3 separate regions of the Homo sapiens genome follow, and regions 1 and 2 are each linked to region 3. The links are contacts of gene promoters, found by promoter capture Hi-C in blood cells and fetal thymus (Javierre and others, 2016). All regions are on one chromosome and are shown on one strand. The core of a region is centred on a gene start or on the middle of the fragment in contact, and the rest is flanking DNA. Distances in the headings are between cores, read along the strand shown. Region 1 overlaps SKAP2 (src kinase associated phosphoprotein 2). Region 2 overlaps SKAP2 (src kinase associated phosphoprotein 2). Region 3 holds the start of HOXA4 (homeobox A4).

The links. Contacts are between HindIII fragments. The CHiCAGO score rates a contact against its expected background, and 5 or more counts as called.
Region 1: a fragment that was not itself captured here is called in contact with the fragment with the promoter of HOXA4 in region 3 in 1 of 17 cell types (megakaryocytes); the score reaches 7.2 in megakaryocytes.
Region 2: a fragment that was not itself captured here is called in contact with the fragment with the promoter of HOXA4 in region 3 in 1 of 17 cell types (neutrophils); the score reaches 5.0 in neutrophils.

The regions. Positions count from the first base shown.
Region 1 is chr7:26,713,243-26,716,534 of GRCh38, reverse strand. All of the region lies in intron 9 of SKAP2 (src kinase associated phosphoprotein 2), which reads left to right. Among named protein-coding and RNA genes, the nearest start is that of LINC02860, 77 kb to the right of the region's middle. The HindIII fragment of the contact is 216 bases long and covers 1,844-2,059 here.
Region 2 is chr7:26,837,020-26,840,359 of GRCh38, reverse strand. All of the region lies in intron 4 of SKAP2 (src kinase associated phosphoprotein 2), which reads left to right. The region is part of intron 2 of LOC124901606 (a long non-coding RNA gene); the gene reads right to left. Among named protein-coding and RNA genes, the nearest start is that of SKAP2, 26 kb to the left of the region's middle. The HindIII fragment of the contact is 2,972 bases long and covers 1-2,926 here.
Region 3 is chr7:27,128,884-27,132,244 of GRCh38, reverse strand. HOXA4 (homeobox A4) reads left to right here and starts at 1,488. Exons shown (of 2, transcript NM_002141.5): 1 at 1,488-2,127; 2 at 2,674-3,361. The coding sequence starts at 1,512. The coding sequence ends at 3,020. The region is part of intron 2 of HOXA3 (homeobox A3); the gene reads left to right. RefSeq lists a silencer at 1,261-1,330. The HindIII fragment of the contact is 1,595 bases long and covers 841-2,435 here.

The DNA.
Region 1 (3,292 bases), core at 702-3,201, 420 kb after region 3:
AAGTCTAGCACTATTCTTCTTGGAGATACACCTGAAACAAAACCACATAGAAAGTTTCAAAGTAAGGAAATGGAAATAAATACACCATGCATTTCTATCCAAAGAAAGCTACTATAGCTATGTTAACATCAGATAATATGGAATTTAAGGCATAAAGCAATAATAGGACTACAGATGACACTACATAACAAAAATGAAAGAAGATAAAGCTCAAATTCATCTAACTATATAACCCTAATATCTATAACACGAAAACATATAAGACTAATTTGACAAGTTCTTAATCATAGTGGGAAATTTTAAGATACCCCTTTCAAAAACTGATAGACCAAGGAGGCAAAAAATAAGTAAGGATATAAAGATTTAACCACAAAATTAATAATCTATCAAAAAGATATAAAGTAACATTGCATAGTAGAGAATATTTGTTCATTCAGTACACATAGAATAATCATAGAAATTGACTACATATGTGTTCACAGTTAAACTCTCAACAAATTACACTGAATCTGTGTTATACAGACTATGGTCTTTAACTACAATTAAATTTAATTAAGAGCCAACTCTGAAAAGGTAGTTGAAAATACCCAAACCCATGTGTTTGGAAGCTGAAAAAATAATAGTTCATGAGTTAAAAGAGGAAATTACAATGGAAATGACAAAATATGTAGTTTTCCATATGAAATACACTGAAATTAGTACAAATAACAACTTGTAGCATTGTAGCATTGTTGTTAACTCTTTTTTTGGGGGAGGGAACAGAGTTTTGTTCTTGTCACCCAGGCTGGAGTGCAATGGCATGATCTCGGCTCACTGCACTCTCCACCTCCTGGGTTCAAGTGATTTTCCTGCCTTAGCCTTCCGAATAGCTGGGATTATAGGTGTGCACCACCATGCCTGGCCAATATTTTAGTATTTTTAGTAGAGACGGGGTTTCACCATGTTAGCCAGGCTGGTCTTGAACTCCTGACGTCAGGTGATCCACCCGCCTCGGCTTTCCAAAGTGCTGCGATTACAGGCTTGAGCCACTGTGCTTGGCCATGTTATTAATTCTTTGGGGAGAATTAATCCCCAAAGAACTGGAGATGACAGAACTATAAAGGCTATAAAATCAACATTATTTACAATGATTCAAGGATAAAATAAGGAAAAGAAACTTTAACAAGAGAAAAAGATCCTGTAAAAAAAAGATCAGATTTTTTTAAAGAACCAAATAGAATCACTAGAAATTATTGATGGTTTGGATCACTTAGCCATTGAATTCAAAACTTTTAGAGTCACATACATATGTTTACATTGCTGAGGGAACCAATAGAATACATATTAAAATTCTGAACCAGAAGATAAGCAAATGTCAACCACTTTAATCAAATTAAAATGCTAATATTTGTAAAGAAAAAAGAAAAATTATGTTAATGGGGCTAGGCTTTTATGTTTTTTCTGTGAATCCTGGATGAAAAATCCTAACACTGTACCAGAAGGTCAGATATTCACACGATAGGATTTGTATCTGAACATAATCAAGTGTTTTATCCTTTGCCACCAAGAAATCTCAACAAGTAAAGACATAGCTTCTAACAGTCTTCATATCAGACTTTTAAACTGGAGTCTTCATTCTTCAGATATGATTTGTCTCCCATATAGAATATAAACAGATCACAGCCTGCTTTTGTTTTTAATTCATCCATTCTTTCAGAAGATAGAATATGATAAAGTTTGTAGTAGCTTCACGAAAATGTATTTGCTTCTTTAATCCCAGAAAAAAAAATACACACATATGTACACATAGCCACACGAACACATACATCTATAGAGACAGACTGCAGCAAGAGAGTATCAAGCTTCACTATTTTTGCAGATAGGTCAGCTGGGAATATCAACTTCCTAAGAGTACTCAGCTGCTTACTTTAAAGCAGTGATTAATAAGAATGAACAAGTTCAACAAAATGTCAGTGATAAATATAAGCACTCTTCATATCTGGCCTCGGCAAGTGCTACAGCTGAGTAATGTAAAACTTTCAACAAAATGGGAAAAAATCCAATTTAACTTAATCAAGCTTAAGTGAAATTTTACCTTAATTTTGTTTCAAATAAAACATTCGTTTATAGATGTTTTCCTCTTTATTAGAACTTCATTAGAATTTTTACGAAGAAATAACAACTGCTTATAGCCACTTATCCATTAGCCCCTTTGTTCCTTATTAAAGAAGTTAAGATGGGGCAGTTTTTTTAATATATATAATAAGGACATTCAGTTGCAAGGTCTGAGTTTTTTGGACTAGATCCCAAATCTGCCTCCTGCATGGGCCTCTTTTCACATCCTGGTTCAAGGAACTACAACCTAATCGTGCTTCTCTTAAGCACACAAATTCTTGGAAGAGCTCCCTTTGTTCCTGTTGTCTCTTCACCTGCTTACTCTTTATCCTCAGGCAGTTTGGTTTTCTATCCTCATTCCTTAACTAAACCAGCTTCTTCAGAGTCACCAGTACTCTCCTAATCATCAGTCTTGGTCCTCAAATTCATCTCTAGAAATTTGATTTTACTTACCACCGCTTTTGTCTTGAAACTGTCTCCACCTTTGCCCTTCTCCAGTTTGTTTTCTTGTTTACATATTATATTTACAAATAAGCATCTTAGGTCGGGCGCGATGGCTCATGCCTGTAATCCCAGCACTTTGGGAGGCCGAGGCAGGTGGATCACGAGGTCAGGAGATAGAGACCATCCTGGCTAACACAGTGAAACCCCGTCTCTACTAAAAATACAAAAAATGAGCTGGGCGTGGTGGCGGGCACCTGTAGTCCCAGCTACTCGGGAGGCTGAGGCAGGAGAATGGTGTGAACCCAGGAGGCGGAGCTTGCAGTGAGCCGAGATCGCGCCACTGCACTCCAGCCTGGGCGACAGAGCGAGACTCCATCTAAAAACAAAAAAAAAAACAAAAAAGAACAAATAAGCATCTTAGCACTGTATTACATTTCCACATTTCCTGTTGCTTTTTACTGATTGTTTCAAATTATTTTCCAGTCTATCCTTTCCTAATACTGAAGCTTTTTGTTTTTATCTTGTCTTACCTTCTCCTCATGTCATCTTATTATTATTCACTTAATTAACTCATCCAGCAAATATTTATTGAAAGCCCATTGCATGTCAGATTCTGTTCTAGGTGCTGGGAGTTTAGGCATGAAAAAGGCAGACCTAGTCCCTATTAAGATAGTTACAGATTGTAGTAGGTGACACAAGATAAGAGGATAATGTGAGAGGGAGTAAATGATGTGTATTCTATGGTTAAAGAAGA
Region 2 (3,340 bases), core at 191-2,690, 290 kb after region 3:
ATTCAGTGAGCTAGAAGACATATATTGGCTCTGCCCCTCGACGATAGGTCGAAGGATCCCAGTAGATGTATGTTACAAATCTGATTCAGTCCTAGACCATAATCACTTTGTGGATAAAAATCTGAAACCTCTAGGGTGTGAATACAGGAAGGCTAAAATGAAGCTGAAAATATAGAACAGTCATTTATTGTCCTGGTGTCTTTCTAACTAAAAATTTCTGAATAACCTAGGTTACTGAAAGGCTGTGGGCATTGCGAGACACAGGTTTGTGTGAAGAAATTTTTTTTTAGGAATGGAACTATTTTTTAAATCTCAGGGATTAAGAAAAAGGCTGAACTATTATCATAATTTATAATATTAAAAATTTTTTTTGGTATACTTTTCTTTACAAAAATCCAATGTACAAAAATTTGGATTAATAAAGCATGTAAATCATTTTTTCCAACAGATTTCTTTAGAGAGATTGTCTCCAGGATGCCTATAAATAATTAGCTCTTAGAAAGTGTCTAAAACAGGCTTAGATATAAACCTGTCCGTGTGCACAACATAAATTTAATGTACCAAATTTTTGAGGAAGACTTTTTTTGTGTAAAATTAGGTGTAGCACTAATCAGTTCTTACAAAAGCCACGAAATAGATGTTTTACTTTTCTCTCATATCAGTAGAGTATGAAACAATGTTTAAAACTGGAAAAAAAGGTTTTTTTCAATAACTTAGCATTTAGGATAACTATGAAACAATGTTTAAAACTAGAAAAAAAATTTTTCAATAACTTAGCATTTAGGGTGTTTTTAACCCACTATCATATTTTTGACACCTAAAATTATCTTTTGTATTTTGTTCTAAAAAATTCAATTAATTTGCAATTTGCACATATTTTTGCATATATAACATGTATCAACATTTCACTTTTGTTTTTAAAATTTTTGGGTTGTCTTAATATGCCAAATTGCTAGCTTATATATGTTTTAGCAGTTTAATAACAATGATTATTTTAGTCATTGTGCTATGTGTATAGCACAGTTTCAAGTATTTTGGTGGAAGAGAAGGGATTATAGTTGAGGAAATGACAGAAAGTAGAGGACATATTTTTAATCCTCAAGGTATATATTGTGCAATTGGGGATATAAAGTACACAGATGTAAAATATTTTTGTGATACAAAGGTATATATTAGTAAATAAAACACATAGCCATTGAGAATTATCTTTCTAAGTTTTTATGCTATTGATCAGGAAAATTCATCAGAATAAAACAGAGTGGACGGATGATACTATAACAAAGTGGACTAGATACGAAAGACTGCAAAGGTTAAGTAAAACTCAACATTATGAAAAATAATGCATCTTTAATTCAGCAAATTAGCAGTTATTTACACAGTACATGAAGAGGAGAACAAGATACTTGGACAGGGCAATTGGGGGTGAATAAGATAAAGTTCCTATTTTTAAGAAAAATGTAATCTAGATGGCAGGAGAAGATAATCACCTAGAATAAGGTAACTAGCAATCTAGGTTATATTAAACCAGATTCCAAAAATAATAAATACTACGTGCTACAATATTCAATTGATTTAGTCTATACCAAGGCAAGTAGTTGGTTTCATTGATTTTACTTCCTGATGTATTGGCTGAATCAGCCATATGTTTTAGCATCCTGTCAAAAAAACCACAGCATAAACTTTATGCCTAAATTCTAAGAGATTGTGGAGGGAGGGCCTTTTATTTAAGTGAGTTTTATGTGGGTCTTGAGGTTTGTTGCAGAGAATGGGAAAACAAACTGAAAAGAACTTTTGGAGTTCAAGCTCAGAAACCAGGTTTTCATTATAATTGATGATAACTTTTTTGTCAAGGACAAGTTGCTTAGGCCTTTTTGGATTTTTATTTTCTGGTATGTGAAATGAAGAGTTTGAACCGGGTAATTGCTTAGACGTTCCCTAGAGCACTAAATGCTTGTGTCCCCACATTTCAGAATTAGTAAATTGAATGGTGGCAGTGAGGTGAGGTGATCTGCATGGGGAAGATATGGGTGACGACCAGAGGTGGTATTGAATAGGAAGGAGTGGAGGGGGTCTTGGAGGTAGGTGCATGATTTATAGTAGGAGCTGAATGCCAAATTAAGGAATTTACCTTTGATTTGGTAGTCATTAAGAGATCCCTGAAGGAGTATACTGAAGTGAGGGATGCAGATTTGAGGGATATTGTCCTGGAAGTTAAATGTAGGTTAAATGAAGGCGTAGAGACCATCTAGTGGAGGTAGCAAGCTAAATGCTTTGCTACATTACTTATTTTTAATCATGACAGTATCTCTATGAAGTAGAGTACTATCACTATTTGACAAATGAGGAAACCTAAAATAGAGAGGTTAAGTGATATGCCCAATGGCATATAGCTACATAGTGGCAGAACTGGAATTTGAATTCATGTCTGTCAACTGTAAGGATTATGCTCTGCTCTTAAAAGAGTTACTTTTTCCCTCTTCCCCAGCTAGCATACTGCTCTGCTGCTTTTGATTAAGGGAGTGTTGATAAGACTCTGGGCTAGAGAGGTGGATATTGTACTGAAAAGGAAGTGATTTTCTAGCCCTTTCCTACTCAAAGTATGGTCAGTAGACCAACAGTATCAGCATCATCTGGGAGCTTGTTAGAAACGCTAAATCTGTCTCCACCTAATATAGTTTGGATATTTATCTCCGCCCAAATCACATGTTGAATTGTAATTCCCAGTGCTGGAGGTGGGGCCTGTTGGGGGGTGTTTGGATCATGGGGCAAATCCCTCATGGCCTCGTGCTATCTTCGTGACAGTGAGTTCTTGTGAAATCTGGTCATTTAAAAGTATGTGGCACCTCCCAACCCCACTCTCTGTCTCTTGTTCTTTTACCGTGTGTTGTGCCTGCTCCCGCTTTGCCTTCCACCATGATTGTAAGCTTCCTGAGGCTTTCTCAGAAGCCAAGCAGATGTCCAGTGCCATGCTTCCTGTACAGCCTTCAGAACCATAAGCCAATTAAACCTCTTTCTTTTTCTTATTATTATACTTTAAGTTCTGGGGTACATGTGCAGAGCGTGCAGGTTTGTTACATAGGTATACATGTGCCATGGTGGTTTGCTGCACCCATCAACCCATCATCTACATTAGGTATTTCTCCTAATGCTATCCCTCCCCTAGCCCCCAACCCCCTGACAGGCCATGGTGTGTGATGTTCCCCTCCCTGCGTCCATGTGTTCTCATTGTTCAACTCCCACTTATGAGTGAGAACATGCAATGTGTGGTTTTCTGTTCTTGTGTTAGTTTGCTGAGAATGATGGTTTCCAGCTTCATCTGTGACCCTGCAAAGGACACGAA
Region 3 (3,361 bases), core at 239-2,738:
AAAAATCAACTAAGGTGCACCAGCTGAAAAATCCTTGCTTTTGCATGCCAATATGAAAATATTTTTAGAATGGTGACTATGCTAGTTTACACTGCTTTAATTTAGGCTGAAAAGTAGAGGATCTAGATATGTCTACTACTCAGAAAAGAAAGGGAGAAAGCACACAGCACAAATAAGGCATCAGTATTTACTTCAAAGATCAACATTAGGTGGAATTAATAAGTAATTTATTTGTTAATAATGGCGTAATTAGTGTACCCATCAAATTTCAATTACCAAATAGCAGGCAACAGTCTCCTCTCCCTCCTTTCCGGAGCTTCTGATATCGTTAATACGCTAATTTTCAGCAATTCAGAAATTATAGACTGTCCTGCAAATATAACTCTAGCCTCAGATACTGCCTGAGAAAGCAGGATCTAAAAGAGAAAACATGAAATTCTTAGCTGGAAAAGACCCATCAGCGATCAGACCCGGCAAGGTGTTTATTCTACCCTTAGCTTGTTTTTGTTTGGGGATAGTTCTGAAATAGGAAGTTATTGTTTTCAAAGCTCGGTTCTGTGGAGGTGTTGCTTCTATCCATTCCCATCCTTGGGCCACCTTCTCTCTCACAATCGCACCTAGTAAATGCGGGCATATTTAGCTCTCACATCGACAACCCCCGTCAAATTAGATGCTATTACGAAGGTTCCAATTTTTCTTAGGAAAACACGAAACAGATTGTCTCTGAAAGAAGGAAAAAATGAAAAGTGTCCATCCAGTTATAATGGAATGGCCTCGATTTACATCCTTGGGTCGATTTCTCTTAGCTGCCCGCCCACCCTTTGCAGCTTCTGCCAAGCTTCTCAAAGCAAGGGCTCTCAGGCTGACACGCAAGGAGCAGGGTGTGGGGAAGGGGGATCTGCGGTTGAGAAAATGTGTCTGGTGGCCTCTCAGTGGCGTACATAAAAACCAGGATGCCCCTCGGTCCCAACGCCCTTCCTTTCGCCTGTTAGCCTAGAACCCCTGAAGGACACGAAGCCTGACTGGGTTGCGCCCGAGGTCAGCGCTGAGTCGCGGCCGCCAGACAGCCCGAGGCCTAGGCCAGCAGTAGGGCAGGCAGAGGGCTCCCGAGAGGACCTACAGCCTGACAGGGCCTGAATTCCCAGCGGGAACCAAAGCTGGGGGGCTGGGGTCCAAAGCTCCTGCTCCCTCCCCCAGCCCAGGGGCCGGACAGCAGCATCCATCACGCACCCGCGCGTTTCCTGATCCGGGTCCGCGCGCGCGGTGCGCCCATTGGTGGGGGCGCTGCACGTGGGGCACGGGGCGGGGCGCGCGCTGGGCTGGGGAGGAGCGGCTCGAACTTTGGTGGCGGCGTCTGCGGGAGGGGGAGGAGTGGGCACTTGACAGCGGGGGGAGGGGAAGGGCGCAGAGGAAAGGGGGATGGGAAGCGAGGCAGGAGGGGGAGGGGCCTCGGCAAGCCCAGAAAAAACGACAACGCGAGAAAAATTAGTATTTTTGCACTTCACAAATTAATGACCATGAGCTCGTTTTTGATAAACTCCAACTACATCGAGCCCAAGTTCCCTCCCTTCGAGGAGTACGCGCAGCACAGCGGCTCGGGCGGCGCAGACGGCGGCCCGGGCGGGGGCCCCGGCTACCAGCAGCCCCCAGCGCCCCCGACCCAGCACCTGCCGCTGCAGCAGCCCCAGCTCCCTCACGCGGGCGGCGGCCGAGAGCCCACTGCCTCCTACTACGCGCCGCGGACCGCCCGCGAGCCCGCCTACCCTGCTGCCGCGCTGTACCCCGCGCATGGGGCCGCGGACACCGCCTACCCCTATGGCTACCGCGGCGGCGCCAGCCCCGGGCGGCCGCCCCAGCCCGAGCAGCCCCCGGCGCAAGCCAAGGGCCCAGCGCACGGCCTGCATGCGAGCCACGTCCTGCAGCCCCAGCTGCCGCCGCCCCTGCAGCCTCGCGCCGTGCCCCCAGCGGCCCCGCGGCGCTGCGAGGCGGCCCCCGCCACCCCAGGCGTCCCGGCAGGGGGCAGCGCCCCCGCGTGCCCGCTGCTCTTGGCCGACAAGAGCCCGCTGGGCCTGAAGGGCAAGGAGCCCGTGGTGTACCCCTGGATGAAGAAGATCCATGTCAGCGCCGGTACGTGGCGCCGCTTGGGAGGCGCGGGAGGTGGGCCGGGGCTGGGCCTGGGTTCGAGGGTCGGGGTCAGGAGGGAGAGGCTCAGGGGAAGGGGGCCTCGGGAGGGGAGCCCCCATCTGACCCGGGCTGCGGTGAGATGTGGGTATGTGCGCGCCAGCCAGCCGCCTGATCCCAACATGAGAACCCTTTTGTACCCAGGGTCCCTTTATCAGGAGATTTACGAGACGCCAAACTGTTAGGGCAGTAATTATAGCCCCCATAAATTTAATTGCCCTGGCAGAGGCTTCAGGCCATGTGTCTTTGAAGCTTTTCTTCAGCCCCAATGCCCAGCACCATTCTTTATGGCTCTCGGGTGTTTCCCGTTGTCAATAGCCTGTGAAACATTTTCTTTGCCGTTTTATGTATCTTGCGTGAACTTGGTGTCAGGTTATTATATAATGATGATGTCCAATTGCTCTTCCCCACCCCACCTTCTCTCTCCTCCTCCTTTCCCTCTCTTCCGCTCCCTCCTCCTTGGCCTTCTATTTCGGGGTTCTGGGTTTTCAGTTAACCCCAGTTATAACGGAGGGGAGCCTAAGCGCTCTCGAACCGCCTACACCCGGCAGCAGGTCTTGGAGCTGGAGAAGGAGTTCCACTTCAATCGATACCTGACCCGGCGGCGCCGCATCGAGATCGCCCACACGCTCTGTTTGTCTGAGCGCCAGGTCAAGATCTGGTTTCAGAACCGGAGGATGAAGTGGAAGAAAGACCACAAACTGCCCAACACCAAGATGCGATCCTCCAATTCGGCCTCGGCCTCTGCCGGCCCACCAGGGAAAGCACAAACTCAGAGCCCACACCTCCATCCCCACCCCCACCCGAGCACCTCCACACCCGTTCCCTCCTCCATATAATCTTCTAGAGATCTTAACCAGTTTCTATCCCTTACCTGCTTTTCTCTTCTCTTCTCCTGCTCCGTTCCTCATCCACCCCTCCCCATCTGGACCATAATAGACACCAAAACAAACCCAAATTGGTGAAAAGAATAATCAAAAAGAAGACATTATCCGGTTAAGAGTCTGTGCTGGTTGCCACCCAAGAGAGAACAGTTGTCCAGGATGCTGGCTGGTGGAACAACCTGCTGGCCCGAAACAAGGCTGCCAGGTGTGGATACCTGAGAAGGACTACTTGGTATCAAATACTTTTGAGATGGCTACAGTCAGCTAGCTGGACAGCCCATGCTGAGTGGGGACAT